Linked DNA regions of Homo sapiens: regions 2 and 3 are each linked to region 1. The links are contacts of gene promoters, found by promoter capture Hi-C in blood cells and fetal thymus (Javierre and others, 2016). All regions are on one chromosome and are shown on one strand. The core of a region is centred on a gene start or on the middle of the fragment in contact, and the rest is flanking DNA. Distances in the headings are between cores, read along the strand shown.

Evidence for each region. The method cuts DNA at HindIII sites, captures the fragments that hold promoters and counts their contacts. A CHiCAGO score of 5 or more calls a contact.
Region 2: a contact is called between a fragment that was not itself captured here and the fragment with the promoter of AMACR in region 1, in 1 of 17 cell types (activated CD4 T cells). The highest score is 6.1, in activated CD4 T cells.
Region 3: a fragment that was not itself captured here is called in contact with the fragment with the promoter of AMACR in region 1 in 1 of 17 cell types (non-activated CD4 T cells); the score reaches 5.0 in non-activated CD4 T cells.

The regions. Positions count from the first base shown.
Region 1 is chr5:34,006,724-34,009,423 of GRCh38, forward strand. It overlaps AMACR (alpha-methylacyl-CoA racemase), which reads right to left and starts at 1,327. Exons shown (of 5, transcript NM_014324.6): 1 at 1,050-1,327. The coding sequence starts at 1,296. All of the region lies in intron 6 of C1QTNF3-AMACR (C1QTNF3-AMACR readthrough (NMD candidate)), which reads right to left. RefSeq lists a silencer at 1,464-1,543. The HindIII fragment of the contact is 12,530 bases long and covers 1-2,700 here.
Region 2 is chr5:36,249,009-36,251,816 of GRCh38, forward strand. RANBP3L (RAN binding protein 3 like) reads right to left here. Exons shown (of 14, transcript NM_145000.5): 13 at 2,305-2,491; 14 at 1-689. The coding sequence ends at 646. The region is part of intron 1 of LOC124900962 (a long non-coding RNA gene); the gene reads left to right. Among named protein-coding and RNA genes, the nearest start is that of NADK2, 8.5 kb to the left of the region's middle. The HindIII fragment of the contact is 2,298 bases long and covers 127-2,424 here.
Region 3 is chr5:36,868,413-36,871,112 of GRCh38, forward strand. No RefSeq gene overlaps it. Among named protein-coding and RNA genes, the nearest start is that of NIPBL-DT, 6.9 kb to the right of the region's middle. The HindIII fragment of the contact is 1,941 bases long and covers 363-2,303 here.

The sequences.
Region 1 (2,700 bases), core at 77-2,576:
TTACAAGCCTCAAATACAGCTGTGAGGGTTAAATGAGTTAACGCATTTAAATAAGCCGGCTGTGCCGTAGGCATTCATTCATTCACCATTTACCGATTTCCCACTATAGACCAGGCAATGCTTTGGATTTCTACTTGAACAAAGTTATTCTGGCAGCTGTCTGAGAATCCACTGGAGTGATACCAGCCCCAAACACCAGTTTTTAAAAGGCTGTCACACCAGTGTCAAGGCAGTTGCAGCAGGTATGGAGAGAAATAGTCCGAGTGGGCTAAGGAGCAAAATGACTGTATTGATGATCATTGAAATTGGATGTGAAAGGAAGACTGGAGTCCATGATGAAGTACAAGTTTGAGATTCAGGCATTCACTGAAATAAATAATACAGAAGGTGGAGATGCTGTTTTAGAAGGAAGAAGGAAAGGCTCATTTTGGGATTTGTGGAAGCTGCCTGGCGGGCAGCCTTGACGGCGATGCCCAGGACCTGTGTATGCCAGCGTCTGCCGCTCTGAAAGGGGGAAGTCTACAAAAAGGTGAAAATGATGGGAATGGGTAACTGGGCTTCAGGGAGCAGATGCTGAGACTTAGAACGCCAGCATTTCAGGCAGGGAGGAGCGTTAGCCTGGGCCCGTGGATGGCTTGAGGGTACAGCACTCCAAAACGGTAGCCGAATGACCGCCTATATGCAGTTTTCCAGGAAGGGAATCCTATGGCTTTCATTAGATTCTCACAGGGTTCAAGACCCTCAATTAATTAAGAAAGGCAAATACGGAACGTTTCTTAGAAAAAAAAGGAGGAATTTGGGAAGGAGTCAGAGAGGCAAAAGGAGAAACCGGGCAACAGCAGTATCTCAGAACCCAAGTTTTGGACAATCCAGTTTGGGAAGAATGATCACTAACAATACCCTAGGAGGCAAAAATCTGGAAGGCTGGGGCCGACAAGGGTTCTTGCGGCAACAGGGCAAAGGTGTGGCGGGTGCAGCCTCGATCGAACGGCCAGGCCCCTCCCCTCCGCGGGAACTTCCCGAGAGCAGCCCGCGGGGCCCGGGCTCACCGCGGCGGAAGGGCTCCAGCAGCACATCCGACCGCTTGCACAGACGCCGCAGCACGGCGGCTCCCCGCGGCTGCTTCAGGTCCAGCACTAGCGAGCGCTTGCCCCGGCCCAAGCGGCTCACGTCGTAGCGGGAGCCGGGCCGGTCCACGCGTACCACACGCGCCCCGAAGTCAGCCAGGACCATAGCACAGAACGGGCCCGGGGCCAGGCCGGACAGCTCCACGACCGAGATGCCCTGCAGTGCCATGGCGCTTCCCAGTGCCCCGCTGAAGGAAACTGAGCAGCCCTTAGCCCCAGCCCAGCAGCCTGCAAGAAGCCCTCCCAATCCCCGGCGCCACGCCCCCAGCCGCGGCGCCGCGCCCCAAAGGCACCACCCCCGTCCCTCTTTTGCGGGCCTGCGCAAGCCCGCGGAGTCTGCGCACTGGGCGCTTCCCCACCCCCGGCCTCCCGGGACCGCCAGTGCCAAATGCAGTAGGTTGCTTTCCTTTTTGTGCAACCTAAATTCCTGAGTCTTAAATTGCAGGGACTGACCTTTGGAGCTCCTGCCTGTTACCGTCCTCTCTGGACGCTTTTATTGTACCAGGGCGATCCCCAGCCCAACTGTACCATTCGAGTCCCTACTCCTGCCTTGCTCTAGGGAAATAAAATAACGTAAACACGTAAGAACAATGCGAAAGCGTTTTCTTCCCTAGGCTGCAGATTGTCTTCTTCACCGCCCCTGCTTAGCTAGCTAGCTAGCTGGGAATTTAATCCAGAAACGGCTTGCGATACCTCCTAGATGCACTCGTTTTGAGTTACAAACTCCGCGGATTACATGTCTTTTTAAAAAAGTTTAGACTACACTAGGAAAATTATTTTAGTATCAGAAGAATATCAGGGGTGTAGTACTCATCAGAGCTAAATGAGAGCGCTTTAAAAATGTTAGTTTGTCTTCCGCCATTTCTACAGAAAGCTGCAATTTCAGGTTTTCAACCTAATAGGTGATATTTAAGAAAAAAAAAAAGCAATCGCAAATAGCCCCACTGCTTTTACAAATCATTTTTTCTCTTCTAGGTATAGCCTGTCAGGTGGCCTAATGTAATTTTTGACATCTCTAGGAATTTTAATAGAACCAGAAATGGGTGCCAGAGATATGCCTGCACTAATCTTAAGTGGGGATTTATGTATTTCTCAAGCAAGTGATTAAAGCAAAACTAGGCACGATTGAAATCAAGATCTTTTAGGCAAGAAAGTCATGATGAGTTTTAGAATTATTTTAGGACTCTGTGGCTTTCTCTTCATAGAAATAGAAAAAAAAATTGTATAAAACCACAAAAGGTCCTGAATAGCCAAAGCAACACTGAACAAAAAGAACAAAGCAGGAAGCAACACACTACCAGAATTCAAATTATACTACCAAGGTGTAGTAACCAAAACAGCATTCTATTGGCATAAAATAGACACAAAGACCAATGGAACAGAATAAAGAACCCCAAAATAAATCCATATATTTACAGCCAGCTGATTATCAATAAAAACACCAAGAACATATATTAAGGACATTCTATTCAATAAGTAGTGCTGGAAAAACTGGAAATCCATATGCAGAAGAATGAAACTAGACCCCTATCCCTCACCATACACAAAAATCAACTCAGAATGGATTAAAAAA
Region 2 (2,808 bases), core at 26-2,525, 2.2 Mb after region 1:
TTATATTTTATTTATTCATTTAACAACTATTGGATGCTGACCATGAGTCAAACATTGACAAGATGCAACAGATACAAGTCCAAGAGCAGATGCTCTTTTTAAAGGAATTCATACCATGAATATATAAGCTTATCATATTAGGAAATCCAAAAGCTAAATTAAAATATTTCCCAGAAGATAAATAGGATTTAGTGAAATGTTATCATGCCATTATACTATTTTTCAGAGAAATGACTCTGGAAATTTAGTAAAATATTTGTTTTGTGGTCAAGTATGACTGAAAAAAATAAACATTTTGTTAGGTATTTATCAAATCTAGCAATTTATAATTCTAAGTATTATATCCATCAATGTGATGAAGAGTCCAAATTAGTTATAAAATCCTATTCTAAATAAACTTCTTCAAAAATGATAAATTTTGAACTTCTGAAGTCCATTTTTTTAAATTCTGTCAGTTTCTGCACAATAATCAAAATGTAAAATGTAAAACATAAAAATGTTAATTGCAACAAATTACATTTCTTAAACTTTTCTATAAAAACTCTTCAAGGAATGAATAGAATCTTCTCATTAGTTAGGGTGGTTTAGTATTTTCAGTAGGGTGACCCCTCTTTTTGTAGATGTCATGTTTATAGTAGGTAGTATTCATGAACAGGCAACCGACTGTCTGTGAGTCCAACTAGAAGGATCTGTGATATAAATTTAAAATGTTTTATTATACAATATTATATTTAGGGTAGATTTTTAATATTGAATGCAACTAAACATGAATATTAATGAATATACTCATTGGTGATGAAATAAAAGCTACAGAATATACATTTTTACAAGCAACATTTAGAGATGTTGCTAAAATTTTAATCATGCCTCTTTTAGATAATTTATAAGCAACAAAGTGCAAAAAATTAGACCTTTTATTGCTTCCATAACATTTTAGCATTTGTTTTTACTGCCTCCTGGAGAAGATACTAAGTGAAAATGGGAAAAAATGGCAGGGGAAAGGGGGTTCATATGATTGACATTTGCTTTGCCTTATTTTCATTGTTTTTTATTAAGATAGTTACATAGCACCCCTTTCCTAAAATGGAATATAACAGAATATAGATATCATAAACATGTGTCATTAGTTAGTGAGAGAATTTGCTATTTAATCCTTATTTCAAATTGACATTGTTAATGTGTACCAACTAGTTCTCTGATAGACCCCATTTTATTGTTGGCAGTGTAAACATTATTATAAAATAAAAGATTTTTTTATTTTATATGTTTTAAAGACTAATAAACCATTTGTTTAATAGATTTGCTTAAAGTAGCAAAAAAAATCATATTCACTTAGTTTTCTGAATCACTGGGTCAAGCAGGTTATAATACTGATCTGCATGTTTTGTGTATTTTTCCTTTTGATTATAGCTTTAATATTAAGCAAAGGAAGATATTTCATCCAGTTATGTACGTTCTTTGATAGATTCTTAAATTACATATGATTAAAGCAGCTTTAATATTTCAAAATGATTAAGAGTTGAAAAAAATGCTTGTTACCACACTATCGTTGTAATTGTATTACTCAGTCCTCTGTAAAACAGAATTCAGGACTAAGTGAAACTGTTAGTGAAAACGCTTGGATGACTTTTATTGGAATAATTACATCTGTATAACAAAGTTGAGCTTACTATGTTTGACATTGTTTTTCTCCAAAGAGAAGTACGAATATTAGTTTTAAATCCACATATCAAGATAAGCACTAAAACCTAACAGTCTGTTTATCACTGATTCCACTTCAACCTTACTTTATTTGTGAATCCTGATACAATAAAAGAAATAGTACTTTTTCCCCTAGATAAAATAGGTCCTTGAAAATAGTATTTGTACAATCTAGTTATTCTTACAAGCAGTCAAATTCTAAAAAGGGAATAAACGAATTTTCAGGGTATCAAGCCAAGTTTACCAAGTGGGCTTATTATATGTATTTATAATTCTTCCTAGTATAGCCAATAATAAAATGAAAATAAGTGAAGAGAAATAAAAATGAAGGGTTAATTTCAGGGTAGCAATGTAATAGTTTTTTATGCAGTTTATAAGCAAATGACATAGGCATCACCATGAAGCTGACTTGATAAAATGAAGACCACTTATAGAAGACAGTGATTTTCAAACCCACTCCTCAGATCCAAACAACTAAGGCTCTAGCCACCACTAACTTTAAACAGAGCAGTTCCACTTGTTAAAAAATCTACCTAATATATTAGGATCGTGCTTAAGAATTCTTTTTTAAACCTCTGAACTAACAAAACAAAAGCTATTTACCTGATCCATTTTTAGTGACTTGGATGAAATCATCCTCATTCTCATCACAGCTTTCGCAGTTCAATTGTTGGGCTGTTTCTGACAGGCTTTCAGCTTGATTGACATCTCTCTGCTTATTGAAGCTTTGAAGTGCAACAAGACGATGATGTATTGCTGCATACAAATATGCTGTATCTTGGGCACTGGCCTGCATGAGGAACATTAAATTGTTAAGAAAATCATTAATATGTTAGCTACATTTTACAGATTTTTAATCTTTCACTACTAATAAGGAAGGAATTACATGGCATAAATCTACAGTGTACATAGGTGCTAACAACCCTAAAAATTAAGCAGTAAAAAGACAATCTTGAACCAAATTGAATCCTAAAATGTATACTTTTATAAGCAATCCCAATGTACACATTTTAAATTTAGAAAGTGAAATTTTGTTATATAAAATTTCTATTTGAATTTTTGAATTTAAATTAGTTAAGACCATCCCTCTTTCACTATTTTACACTA
Region 3 (2,700 bases), core at 83-2,582, 2.9 Mb after region 1:
TTTTTAGTAGAGACGGGGTTTCACCATGTTAGCCAGGATGGTCTCTATCTCCTGACTTCGTGATCTGCCTCCCTCGGCCTCTCAAAGTGCTGGGATTACAGGCGTGAGCTACCGTGCCCGGCCAGAATCTTTTAGATTATTAAATGAAAACTAGATAAAACAGAAATACCTATACTACATATCATAGATGCTGAAATGTTGACTTTGGTGACAAAGTTACTAGTTTTTATTGGACTTTGACATGAGTTAACCCATTACTATGTTTATCAATAAGGAATAGTTCATGGTAAAGCTATTGCACTTTATTAATTTAATGTTTAAAAGTTCATAATAGCTATTTTTCATGAGTGGAAACATTTAAAAGCTTAGGCTGTTTATGCAATTCTAATAGCCCATATTCATCACAACTCGTGTGTAAAGGAAACAAATAATTAGAAGTAGTAATACTGGTGGCATTGAGGGTTTTTTGGCATTAAAATGTCTCTAGGCTGGGCGCAGTGGCTCACGCCTGTAATCTCAGCACTTTGGGAGGCCGAGGCAGGCGAGATCGCACCACTGCAGCACTCCAGCCTGGGTGACAGAGACTCTGTCTTAAACAAACAAAAAAAAATGTCTCTAGGACTGATGAGCTGTACATCTTGGATATTATCGCTGTGATTAACTGACTTGACACCAAATGCCAATTTATAAAATAATGCCAGTATAATATAGCATTATAAAAGAATATACCCTTCAAAAAGTTTAAAGTCTACTTTCTAGTACTCAAAATCAAATAATTTGCTTTTTATTTTTTATTTTTTGGCTGGAGATCGGAGTTTTATTATAACTCAAATCAGTCTCCTGGAGCATTTGGGGATCAGTTTTTAAGGATAATTTGGTGGGTGGGGGAAGGCAAGTGAATAGAGTGTGCTGATTGGTTGGGTTGGAGATGAAATCATAGGGAATTGAAGCAGTCCTCTTGCTCTGAATCAGTTCCTGGGTGGTGGCCACAAGATCAGATGAGCCAGTTTATTGATCTGGGTGGTGCCAGCTGATCCATCAAGTGCAGGGTCTGCAGAATATCTCAAGCACTGATCTTAGGAGCAGGTTAGGGAGGGTCAGAATCGTGTAGCCTCCAGCTGCATGACTATTAAACTATAATTTCTAATCTTGTGCCTAATTTGTTAGTCCTACAAAGGCAGTCTAGTCCCATAAATGATTTGCTTCTAAGTATCACTTTCTTGAAATCACTGGTGGCATACTGAATTTGTATGATTGTTCATATATCAATGAAATTAAATCTTTCAATAAAATTTAAGAAGTTTGTCTACTTCATAATGAAGATATGCTCCACGTCCTATGGAGATAGTGCTTAAGAAGTATATTTTTGAAAGGAATAAACACATGAGTAAAAGTATATATGGTATGTTTCCACAAACCTTGAAACGAGTAAGGGGCTAGACTAGCTAATTCATTTGGTTATTCAACTAAAAATGTTTGGGTCTTTACATTTATTTTGATGCAGTTAGCTAACGCTCAGCTCTTATACTTTTACTTCAAATAATATATAGATCACATCTATTCATTCAATATGCACCCATTCTATCAGGCATTTTGAAGTTCTTAGACAAAATTAAATAAACTGACATAATCACTTAGCTACTAGATTCCTCCAAACATCTCTCACAAAACAGATATTACTTTATTTGTTGTGTTTATAAACAGTAGTGGAAACAATTCTGTTCTCTAATTTTAAGCTGAAAAATCATGTCCTTATTAATTCACTGTAATAATTTTTTATTAAATTTTATCCCTTATTTCTTAGATTAAATGCACATAAATTTGATGTACAACTTTATAGTTTTAAAATGTGTCTATTTATGGCCTAATTTCAACTTTAAGTGAAAATGGAATTATTAAGAAATATTCACTGTTACATTTGGCTAGCAATTCATCATGGCATTAAGGTACTGTTTTCCATGGTTTTTCCATCTTGGGTTATAATACTGAGACATTTCACTTGTATAGTTCTGCATTCAATTTTTCTTCCAATTTATTTCCTGCAAGGTAATTCTAAGTTATAATTGTCACTGTATCCTTATTTGATACATTGGTCGCCTTTCTCTCCTTATGACTGTCTTTTTGGTAAACTCAAAAAGTGAGCAGGGGCCATACAGTTAAATTCAAAACAGGAAGTCATATGATGTTCCTTTATACTCCTACCTTTCATGATTGACTTGGCTCCCTCTGCTGGTTAGTAATATAATTCCTTTCTTAGTTCAATAGGGTATGTGTTAACATTGGTGAAATATCTGGGGTGAATAAGCTTGGAGTTAGAGCTTCTTATATGTTGATTCTCTAGCAAATTTTGTGTTTAGCTAAGGTTTTAACCAACCTAGGCCTTACTTATCTATAATGGAAAGGGACTTGGTATCACATGCCTGAAAAACAAAATTTTTATTAATGCCGTCTTAAATAGACTTGCCAACATTACAATACTGAAATCTACAAATAGCAAATAAAGTGAAAGAGTAATGAAATATTTAAATTGTATTAAAATATTTCAGTATAATATAATCCTTAACTTATTTGCTTTCTGGTTAGATACTTTTCATTCTACTCATGCAATATAATGCCTCCTTTTTAAATTCTATACACAATTTCTTCCTTCTTAAGTTTCCCCCTTTTAAATCCTATACACAAGTGTAAGTACATTTATTT